Linked DNA regions of Homo sapiens: region 1 is linked to region 2. Evidence: promoter capture Hi-C in 16 types of primary human blood cells and fetal thymus (Javierre and others, 2016). All regions are on one chromosome and are shown on one strand. Each heading gives the region's core, a stretch centred on a gene start or on the middle of the fragment in contact. The rest is flanking DNA. Distances are from core to core; before and after follow the strand shown.

Region 1 (5,512 bases), core at 976-3,475, 1.5 Mb before region 2:
AGACAAAGATTAATTGATTGATTTTGTTTTCTTCTCAAATTCCTTTTACCAAAAGACAGAGATAATAAAACAATATTTATATTTGAGAGGTGGTGATGGTTGTGGTCAAAACGACCAGCTGAAAGTCATAATGTCCAAGCAAGATGAGGGAAAGCTCTGGGGGCAGGCAGTAATAACCATAACAGCAAACACATACTATGAACCAGGCACTACTTATCAACAGTTTATCAACCCATTAAAAGCTTATTGCAGCCGGGCGTGGTGGCTCATGCCTGTAATCCCAGCACTTTGGGAGGCTTAGGTGGGCAGTCACCTGAGGTCAGGAGTTCGAGACCAGCTTGGCCAACATGGTGAATTAGTGAGGCATGGTGATGTGCCCCTGTAATCTCAGCTACGCGGGAGGCTGAGGCGGGAGAATCACTTGAACCCAGGAAGCGGAGTTTGGTTGCAATGAGCCGAGATCGCGCCATTGTGCTCCAGCTTGGGCGACAGAGTGACACTGTCTCAAAAAAAACAAAAAACAGTCTGGGAGAGGTGGCTAACGCCTGTCATCCCAGCACTTTGGGAGGCCGATGTGGGCGGATCATCTGAAATAGGGAATTCGAGACCAGCCTGACCAACATGGAAAAACCCTGTCTCTACAAGAAACACAAAATTAGCCAGGAGTGGTGGCACATGCCTGTAATCCCAGCTACTCGGGAGGCTGAGGCAGGAGAATCGCTTGAACCCGGGAGGCAGAGGTTGCGGTGAGCTGAGATCGTGCCATTGCACTCCGGCCTGGGCAACAAGAGCGAAACTCCATCTCAAAAACAAATAGAAACAAAAACACAACAAAAACCTTATTACAATCCTGTGAACTAGCTACTGTCATTACTATAATGTAGATGAACAAACTGGGACATGGACAGTTGACAAAACATTCCCAACCACACACTAGGAATGAGCTGGGATAGGAAACCAGGCACTCTGGCTCTATTACTCCTAATGCCATACACACGAGCTGACTTAGGAGAAAACAGAAAGTACTGTTCGCACAATACTAACTGGTTCTACCGCCACTGTTCGCTTGCATTTGTTTTTTCCTTCTTGTTAGGAACACGTATCTTTGAAGGAGGTATCATTTCTCCCACAATTCTCCATTTAACGTTTCCTACAGTGTTAAGCACCACCGAGGCCTCTCATAGCCCCAGAGAAGAAGTAATTTGCTTCCTAGAAATCCTCACTGTATCCAGATTCCCTCCCAGAGGAGCCATCAGTTCTCATGGGTGGCACTTTTTCTCCAGCTGATTACACTTTTTTTCTGTACCAGTTAATTTTTCCAACTTCTAATTGAATAAAGGCAGTTTTCTTAAAAAAAAAAAAAAGAGAAAGAAAAACGGAAAGGAAGGAAGAGGAAAGGAAGGAAGAAATGAAGAAAGGAAGGAAGGAAAGAAAGGAGAGGGACAGAAAGAAAAAAAGGAAAGAGAGAAAGAAAGGAAAGGAAAGTAAGAAATGGAAGGGACCTGCAGAAACGATTCACCACGCGCGGCTGACCCTGGGAGGAGCCACAGGTTGAACCAGCGCCTCCCAGGCTGGACGCCCGCCGCGGACACCGCAGACAGTCCCACCCCCAGCGGCGACAGCAACTCTCTGAATTCCGGAAAGAACCTTTTCCAGCGGGACCGGAAGCCCGGCGGGGACCGTAGCGGGGACGGACTGACCTACCGACCATTCTTCCGGGTCCAGAAGGTGATCTCCGCCCGTGCTCAGAATCCAGGGGCCCGGGGCTGTAGGTAGGAGTTAAGTGGGTAGGATCCCTTAACCAGGGTTGTCCGGTGCAGGTGGTGTGTGTTGTTTCGCCTAACGTGTCAGTGGCACAAATCACGCGAACTTCATAAACATTGTGCGTTCGGAAGCCTTTCCAAGATGCATTTAATCCCTGCGTGAGCCCACGTTAGGCATTCACGAAGGCATGTGCACTGTTCTCTCGGAAGCGGCTGGCCGGCTTCCCCTCCTCGCGCGCGGCTGTGGGTGCAGGTCCTCACTTCCCAGCCTCCCATGGGCCCAAGGCCTTCTGGGCTCCAATTTGAGGCGAGCCACCCCAGATCCGTAATTTTTCTGCAGTGATTTATTTTTACCTTTCTGGTAAGTTCCAAAGCTTCCAGCTCACATTCAGACGTTTTCCCTAACGCAACTACGTATTTGCAACATACTTTTTTCAGATTCCTTGACAAGGATATCCTAGCGGCGAAACAACACCGTACTGGGAGTCAGAACGTCTGGGTTCTAGTCTTGACTGCCATTAACTAGCGGTATGACATTGGAGAAGCTTTTTTGACCCTTCTGGATTTCCGTTTCCTTTTCTGTAAAATGAGGAGCTTGGAGTAAGTGACAAGTTTCCTTCCAGTTTTGACATTTGGGTTATTGCCTCCAATGTGTCTTTCCAGTTCCTGCCTCAATTACATATCTGTGCTTTGGTTAATATCTCGTAGGGTCCTTCCTCCCACTCCATTAATCTGTGCTCTTCTCAAATCTGGTTTCATACTGATTTAAAAATTATTTTCTCAAGGAATCCTGTGTTACCTGAGCACTCTACTTCTTGGTCCAGGGGCACAAACGTAAATAAGATATTTTCCATGTGCCATTCTTAGAAGTATTTAATGTGTGTAAATACTATTGAATGAATTTCCAAATCTTCTTTTTTTTTTCTTTAGACAGAGTCTCACTGTCGCCCAGGCTGGAGTGCAGTGGCCTGATCTCGGCTCACTGCAGTCTCTGCCTCCTGGGTTCAAGCGATTCTCCTGCCTCAGCCTCCCAAGTCGCTGGGATTACAGGCGCCCGCCACCGTACCCGGCTAATTTTTGTACTTTTAGTAGAGAGGGGGTTTCACCATGTTGGCCAGGCTGGTCTCGAACTCCTGACCTCAGGTGATCCGCCCGCCTCGACCTCCCAAAGTGCTAGGATTACAGGCATGAGCCATCACGCCCAGCCTGAATTTCTAAATCTTAATGTGTTTATTTCGTTGGCATTAAGTTAGATTTTTCCTTGATCTTTACTCGAATAAGCCTTTTAAGGTAAAATGCTTGCTCGATTACACACACATACACAACCTCATAATTGTCCGAAGGTAAACAAGTTAATGACTTGTGAATATTTTTAACTTATAAGCAATGAATCCTCAAAGCTTATAAGCGAGTATCAAGACATGTGATATGGTTTTAAAATAGCTGATGATAAAGTATATACATCATCTCATTTTCTCCTCTTAGTCTTGTAATAGGAAGGACAGATATTCAAACACTTATTTATTTATTTATTTTTAACAGAGATCCGGAAAATGAGGCCCATAGGAAACAAGTGACTTGCTGAGTCCAGATAACACTGACTGTCAGAGTGAGTGTCCACCTAAGGTTCCTTTGTTGCCTAATAAGATACTTTCTTTGCTATACTGTACTTGTTTCTGTTATCATTTCTTTTCTTTCTTTTAAAAAATATTCAGTATAGGCCAGGCGCGGTGGCTCACGCCTGTAATCCCAGCACTTTGGGAGGCCAAGGCGGATAGATCACCTGAGGTCAGGAGTTCAAGACCAGCCTGGCCAACACGGTGAAACCCCGTCTCTACTAAAAATACAAAATAATTAGCCGGGTGTGCTGGCAGGCACCTGTAATCCCAGCGACTTGGGAGGCTGAGGCAGGAGAATCCCCTGAACCCAGCAGGTGGAGGTTGTAGTGAGCCAAGATCACGCCATTGCACTCCAGCCTGAGCGATGAGCAAAACTCCATCTCAAAAAAAAAAATTCAGTATATTCTATTTACCATGTCAGAACCATACATTTACTATGTCAGAACCATAAAATACACTTTGGGAAGATTGGTTGAAATGTAACATTTAGGCTAGGCGTGGTGGCTCACGCCTGTAATCCCAGCACTTTGGGAGGCTGAGACAGGTGGATCACCTGAGGTCAGGAGTTTGAGACTAGCCTGGCCAACATGGTAAAACCCGGTGTCTACTAAAAATACAAAAATTAGCCTGACACGGTGGCACACACCTGTAGTTCAAGCTACTTGGGAGGCTAAGGCTGGAGAAAATTGCTTGAACCCAGGAGGCAGAGGTTGCAGTGGGCTGAGATCACACCACTGAACTCCACCCTGGGCAACAGAGCGAGACTCCATCTGAAAAAAAAAAAAAAAAAAAAAAGAATGAAATGTAGCATTTAATGCCTAGTTATCTAGCAAAGATCACCCGTCCAGAGCCTTAATTTCTTTGGTCACATCAAATAACTATTATCATTTGTGAACAATTTTAAAGACTATCTAGTAGAAAATATAAATATATTTATATAATATATATGTTGTATATAAATATAAAATATAAGCATATTGTAGAAATGCCATATTATGAGATAAATCATTAAAAAAAAATTTTTTTTTTTTTTGAGACAGAGTCTCGCTCTGTCTCCCCGGCTGGAGTGCAGTGGCGTGATCTTGGCTCACTGCAACCTCTGTCTCCCGGGTTCAAGAAATTCTCCTGCCTCAGCCTCCCAAGTAGCTGGGACTACAGGCATGTGCCACCACGCCCAGGTAATTTTTTTGTATTTTTAATAGAGACGGGGTTTCACCATGTCGGTCAGGCTGGCGTCGAACTCCTGACCTCAAATGATCTGCCTGCCTTGGCCTCCCACAGTGCTGAGATTACAGGCATGAGCCACTGCGCCTGGCCAAAAATTTTAAGGCTTTGTAAAAGTTTATAATTTTGTTCAAGATAGCTTTATATGGTTAAGGTAAACGCATTGAAATAGTTCATAATTTCCATTCTTTTTTTTTTGTAATGCTGAAGAATATATGTGTCTCTCAGTATCTATGGGGCATTGGTTCCAGGACCCCCGCTGCCGCATGCCAAAATTTACAGATGTCCAAGTTCCTTATATAAAATGGCGTATATTTACATGTAACCTAAGCACATACCATTGTATACTTCATGTCATCTCTAGATTACTTATGATACCTAATACAAAGCAAATACTATGTAAACAGTATACTTTAGGGAATAATGACAAGGAAAAAGGTGTACATATTCAGTAGAGACAGAACCATCTTTTTAAAAAATTAAAAAAATTTTCGATCCACAATTGTTTGAATCCACAAATGTGGAACACATGGATACAAAGGGCTGATTAGTAATGTTTAATGATATAAAATAATATTCACAATGTATTCTTTAGTGTAAAAAGTTGTAAAACAAAATTAATATGACCTTATTTTTGTGAGTAAAATAGATAAAAGCACAAAGAAAAGAGTTGAAAATATATATATTAAAATGTTAACTAAAGTTATTTTTGAGTAGTGAGTAAAAGAAAATCTATACTGAAGAGTCTAAAAGGCTATACCCACTACTTGGAAATGTACTCTCCATTGAAAAGCAAACAGACAAACAAAAAAAACCTTAAAATGACTTTACAATTTATAGAAATAATTTTGCATATTATTGCAATGAAAACACGACCCTAGGTTATAATCAGTCATCATAGGTAGT
Region 2 (5,504 bases), core at 560-3,059:
ATACAACAACAGGTATTAAAGTATTCTCTTCCAAGCCTGCTAAAGTTATATCTGATTCATAACAAAATTTTACATAGGTATTTCAATGTATCAATATTTTGTGGCATTAATACAAAGAGAAATTTGACGTCCCAGAAAAATATTTACCTAGATAAATTCAGAACATTTGGTTCACACATGTAATCCCAGTATTCTGGGAGGCTCAGGCACGAGGATTGCTTGAGCCCAGGAGTTCGAGACCAGCCTAGGCAACATAGTGAGACCCTGCCTCTAGAAAAAAAAAAAAAAATTAGCCAGGAGTGGTGGGATTTCCCTATAGTCCCAGCTACTGGGAAGCTGAGGAGATCTCTTGAGCCCAGGAGGTCGAGGCTGCAGCCAGTGGTGACCGTACCACTGCACTTCAGAATGGGCAACAGACTGAGACCCTGTCTCAAAAAACAAACAAAAACAGAAAAACCCAAACCAAACCAAACCAAACCAAAAAACCCCTAACACTTGCAAATAGAAAGCTATGTGGTAATAACATCCATTAACTTGACACATCTTGTTTTGACATCATAGTGTCACTTACTGTTTCAATGAAATGGTAATGAAAGAATATAATAAAGTATTGCAAGTTGAATGCTTGAAGGTAATTGGAATAAAAAGTTTAAAAAAATTTTGCTTTTTCCGGGACTTCAATTTGAAGTAAATGAGTTAATTACTACATGGTAAGTGTCATAAGAGTACAATATTTATTAGCCTGCAGTAGGTACACGTGGACAGGAAGACTTTTCAGCGGTCCACTCCCCCAAGAGGGAATTTTCATTTCCGCGAGGTTACAAATGTTCTTCACTACAGGAAAACTCAACATAGAAGCTCATGTTCTGGGGACTCAAATAACAGTCGTAATACATGAAAACTGTAAAGGATATTCTGCATAAAGGGTCGTTAACATCTCACAGGCCAAATAGCCCTCTCAGAAACAACTAGGAAAGGAAAAAGTTCCCTTGGAGCTGTGCGTTTGCGTATGTCCGTGTGTGTATACAACTGAGGGAGAACGAATACGAGAGAGGGAACTCGAGTCTGAAGTACTGTGGTGTGGGCAGGGTGACATGTAATACTGAAGGAAAGAAGTCTGCTGGTGAAGTAAGAGCCACAGTTAATTTTCCGAAAGGAAGATGAGTAAGTGCACCTGACGTTATTCTACGAAAGCTGCTTCTGCAGGGTGGGAATGTTGGGAAGCAAGGTCTAGTGCGACAGAATTGAAAAGGTGGAGAGCAGGTGATTGCTGGATCCCTAATGCTCAGCAAGGGGGACGCATCCACATAACGTGAGAACGAACGAATGAATGAACGCTGCATAAAAGCAGCTTTGGCTTGGGGAAGGTAAGAGTCTGCAGAGAAGGTCTTGGGGAGAAAAAGCAAAGAAAACCGAGGGAAGAGGCCGAACCCTTAGTGTCAGGAGGAGGGGTGGCTGCGGGGTTAGTGAGGGCACTGACCAGAGAGAACTCGGTGCCGGGCCAGTTGACTCGGAAAGGGATGTCATCGCTGAGTTGAGGAAGGGCTCGGCCGCCGCCGGACGCCTCCAGGAGGCCGCAGAGGACCAGTAACACCGGCCCGCCCGGGACCAGACTCCGTACGCCGCCGCCTCCTTCCTCCATCCTCCGCCGCCGCTTTCTCCAGCCACCGCCACAACCTCCTCTGCTCCAGGAGGAGAGGAGGAGGAGGAGGAGGTGGAGGAGGAGGCGGCGGGACTATAAAGCGCCCGGGTATCACCGGCCCAACCGCCGCCACGTCTCCTTCCGGAGAGCCCGGCAACGCCGCCTCCGCCCCCTTGAGCCTCCTGTCACCGTTTCCGGGGCAGACGACATATCAACATCCGGGGGTCGCGGAGCCGTCCGCCTACGGGGGCCGGGACGTCGCCTGCGCGTCTCTCGTTTTCGGACGGCTGCAGCATCGCGGTGGGGATCGAAAGCGGGGGCTTCTGGGACGCAGCTCTGGAGACGCGGCCTCGGACCAGCCATTTCGGTGTAGAAGTGGCAGCACGGCAGGTCGGTGAGTCTCGGAGGCGGCAGCCGCTTCCTGAAGCCATTCCCGCTGCTCTCCAGTGGGCAGGCAGAGGTTTGACCCACACGGAGTGATAGCGGGAAGAAGACAGTGTGAACCGTGCGGGTGCGGGTCCTTAGATGAGAAAATTCGAAGTAGCGATGAGATGTGAGAAATGGCGGTGTTCCTGACTGACCTGCCTTCTTGCAGCTTTTCTTCTTTTTCTCCGCATTTGGCATTTGTACACTTCATTTTTCCCGCTTGAGGCTTATCTCCATCTCTTCTGCTGTGGACCGTGGCCATCTCGTTACTTAACAGCTTCTGACTAACGCAGGGCAGTTTGTTCAGCGACTGCAACTCTGTGTTAGGGGAAACCTGGGGTGAGGTAGCCCGCCATCTCCCCGTAGGTGAATACCGCAAGCCTCCGAATTTGGCGTGGTGGGCGACTCTCGTGGAATGGGCAGCTAGACATCACAACCCTACATTTTTACCCTCCATCTCTAGATTGAAGTGTTGGGGTGTTGTTTTATCAAGGAAGCTGGTAAGGTTCCTTATGTGAGGTTTAGCGCCAGATGAATGTGTGTGTTTATGAACTAAGTCACGTCTGACTGCATCCCCAAATTAGACAAAAAGTTTTGTTTTTCCCTCCCCCTCTTTAGAAAAAATGCCATTGTCTGTTTTGATCTCCAATATAATGGACATAGAGTGTTGGCTTTAGAGAAATTACCATTCCCTAAAGCTCGACAGTCTTGCTAGATCTGTTAAAGACTGGTCGCCCCCACTTCCTCAGATTTGAACCAAATCAAAAAGCAGGAAGGACAGTCCCATATTCTATCTTAAAAATTTTTTTTTAACATCAGGAATCCATAGTATCAAAGAAGATAACTTTCTTCAGAATTGTTATTCGCTAATTATATTCAGCACTTCTTATTAATGCTTAATGTGATCCAGACTCCTGGGATTTTTGTTGTTGTTGTTTGTTTTGAGACAAAGTCTCGCTCTGTCACCCAGGCTGGAGTGCAGAGGCATAATCTTGGCTCACTGCAACCTCCGCCTCTGGAGTTCAAGGGATTCTCCTTTTTCTCAGCCTTCCGAGTAGTTGGGATTACAGGCGCGCGCCGCTACACCCTAATTTTTGTATTTTTAGTAGAGGCAGGGTTTCACCACGTTGGCCAGGCTGGTCTCGAACTCCTGACCTCGGGTGATCCGCCCTCCTCGGCCTTCCAAAGTGCTGGGATTACAGGCCTGAGCCACTGTGCCTGGCCCCCCTGGGCTTGGTAAAATGCCAAATAAATGGGTTTCTGTCTTTGGTCACACAGTCTAGGCAGGGAGATTGTACAAACAAATAATTGCAAACTATTATAGTAGTAATAGTCAATTTTTTTTTTTTTTAGCATTTATTCTGTGCTAAGCACTAGTCTTAAGTCATGAAGGAAAAGAGATGTATTTGACGGAATAAAAATGAAAACTGTCTGTGAGGTCCTGTTTTAGCATTTAGGGCTATAGTGATTGAATCTGTGTTCAATAGAGCTGATGTTCAAGTAAGAGGGGAACTTAAATAAGTAAAATAATTTCTAGTATTGGTAAGTGCTGCAAAGAAACTAAGGTTATGTGAAAGACAATACCTGTAGGATGTGTTGCTTTTAGTACGTAAGTCAGAGGAGACTTCTGTGAGGAAGTGACATTTGAATTGTGACTTGAATGATGAAAAGAAGGGAGCCAGACAAATTTCTAGGCAGAGGCCCTGAGGCAGGAATGAGCTTGATGTGTTGGAGTGATAGAAAGAAGGCCAGTGTGGCTGGAGTGTAAGAGGAAAGTGGTAGAAGAAGTTTGAGAAGCAGAAAGAGGCCAGGGAGACAGCTCTGTAGGCAGGAGAGTGGACAGGACCCGATGTACATTTGTGAAGATCATTGTGGCTGCTGTGTGGAAAATTGATTGTAGGGGGTGTTGTGGGTTGAATTGTGTTCCCCAAAAAGACATGTTTAAGTCCTATCCCCTAGAACCTGTGAGTGTGAACTACTTGGGATAGGGTCTTTGCAAATATAATTCAAGTAAGGATGAGGTCATACTGAATCAAAGGGGGCCCTAATCTGGTGACTGGTATCTTTATAAGAAGAGGGAAATTTGGATACACATGGACACACAGGGAGAATGCCATGCCAGGAAGGAGGAGGCAGCAAGATTGCAGTATGTGTCTATAAGACAAGGAATGCTAAAGATTGCCAGTAATCACCACAAGCTAGGAAGAGGCAAGGAAGAATCCTTCTTTAGAGCTTTCAGAGAGAGAGAATAGCCCTGCTGACATCTTGATTTCTGACCTCTAGTTTCTAGAATTGTGAGACAATCAATTTATGCTGTCTAAGCTGCTCAGTTTGTGGTCATTTGTTACAGCAGCCTCAGGAAGGTAATAGAGGATGAAAACCAAAAAGTAGTTGAGACAAGTCTCAACCAGTTTAGAAGTTTATTTTGCCAAGGTTAAGGACGTGTCACAGACAGCCTCAGGAGGTCCTGACAGCATGTGCCCAAAGTGGTCGGGCTACACTTGGGTTTTACACATTTTAAGGAGCCACAGGACATCAATCAGTACAAGTCTTTTATGCTTTATTTATAGGTTGATTCTTAAACATTGAAAACTTATCAACTATTTACCATATTGTAATTATACAATCATCATTCGCTATAAAACTATTAAGTATGATTGCATCTGCAGAGAAAAAATGTAATTCTACCTCTGCCAATTAAGGTATCCTATTAGCTTCCTAATAATGGCACCATGTTTGCTAAAATAAACTCATTTTGCTCCTGAAGCTGTATTTCCAGCTCTCACACATGTAATTTAGACTAGTTGCTTTACAAGTCAGTTGCATACCTGTTTACTGAGATTTTTTTGTATCATGCCTGGGTTAGGTCTACTGCTTTATGTATTCCATGTCCTCATTTGTCATAGATTTTTTTCCCACCTTGTAGGGGTATAACTAATTTCAAGCAATTTTTTTCAGGAAGGATTAAACAGGTAATTTAATTTCCACAGACTTCATATGTCTGAAAATGCCTTTACCTTGCCTGCTCATTTAATGATAGCTTGGGAATAGACTTAGTCCACAATCATTTTGTTTTCTTCAAAACTCTGAAGACATTCTCTTGCTTTTTGTGTCTAGTGTATCTGATGACAAGTCTAATGCCAGTCTCTTTCTTTTGCAGGTATCATACTTTTTTCTCTGGAAGATTTTATTAGACTGTTTTCTTTATCATTGGTTCTGTGATATTTTATCAGTGTTTCTAGGTGGTGAATCTTTTTTCATTCATCCTTCTTGGCACTCTATGAATCCTATTTTTCACTTCTGGGAAATTTTCTTCAATTATTTCTTTAATTATGTTCTTGACATTTTCTCTGTTCTATTCAGAATTTAGATAGGTTCTTCCAAATACATTTAGATAGATTCTTCCAAATACAGAGGAAAAATATAAAAAGAAAAA

Evidence for each region. The method cuts DNA at HindIII sites, captures the fragments that hold promoters and counts their contacts. A CHiCAGO score of 5 or more calls a contact.
Region 1: a fragment that was not itself captured here is called in contact with the fragment with the promoter of ERLEC1 in region 2 in 1 of 17 cell types (total B cells); the score reaches 6.6 in total B cells.

Annotation. Positions count from the first base shown.
Region 1 is chr2:55,265,429-55,270,940 of GRCh38, reverse strand. It overlaps MTIF2 (mitochondrial translational initiation factor 2), which reads left to right and starts at 1,710. Exons shown (of 16, transcript NM_002453.3): 1 at 1,710-1,772; 2 at 2,202-2,363; 3 at 3,306-3,372. RefSeq lists enhancers at 849-1,672, 1,618-1,767. The HindIII fragment of the contact is 171 bases long and covers 2,140-2,310 here.
Region 2 is chr2:53,783,349-53,788,852 of GRCh38, reverse strand. ERLEC1 (endoplasmic reticulum lectin 1) reads right to left here and starts at 1,809. Exons shown (of 14, transcript NM_015701.5): 1 at 1,481-1,809. The coding sequence starts at 1,642. ASB3 (ankyrin repeat and SOCS box containing 3) reads left to right here and starts at 1,900. Exons shown (of 10, transcript NM_016115.5): 1 at 1,900-2,032. The region is part of intron 1 of GPR75-ASB3 (GPR75-ASB3 readthrough); the gene reads left to right. RefSeq lists enhancers at 1,817-2,236, 1,752-2,410. The HindIII fragment of the contact is 9,655 bases long and covers 1-5,504 here.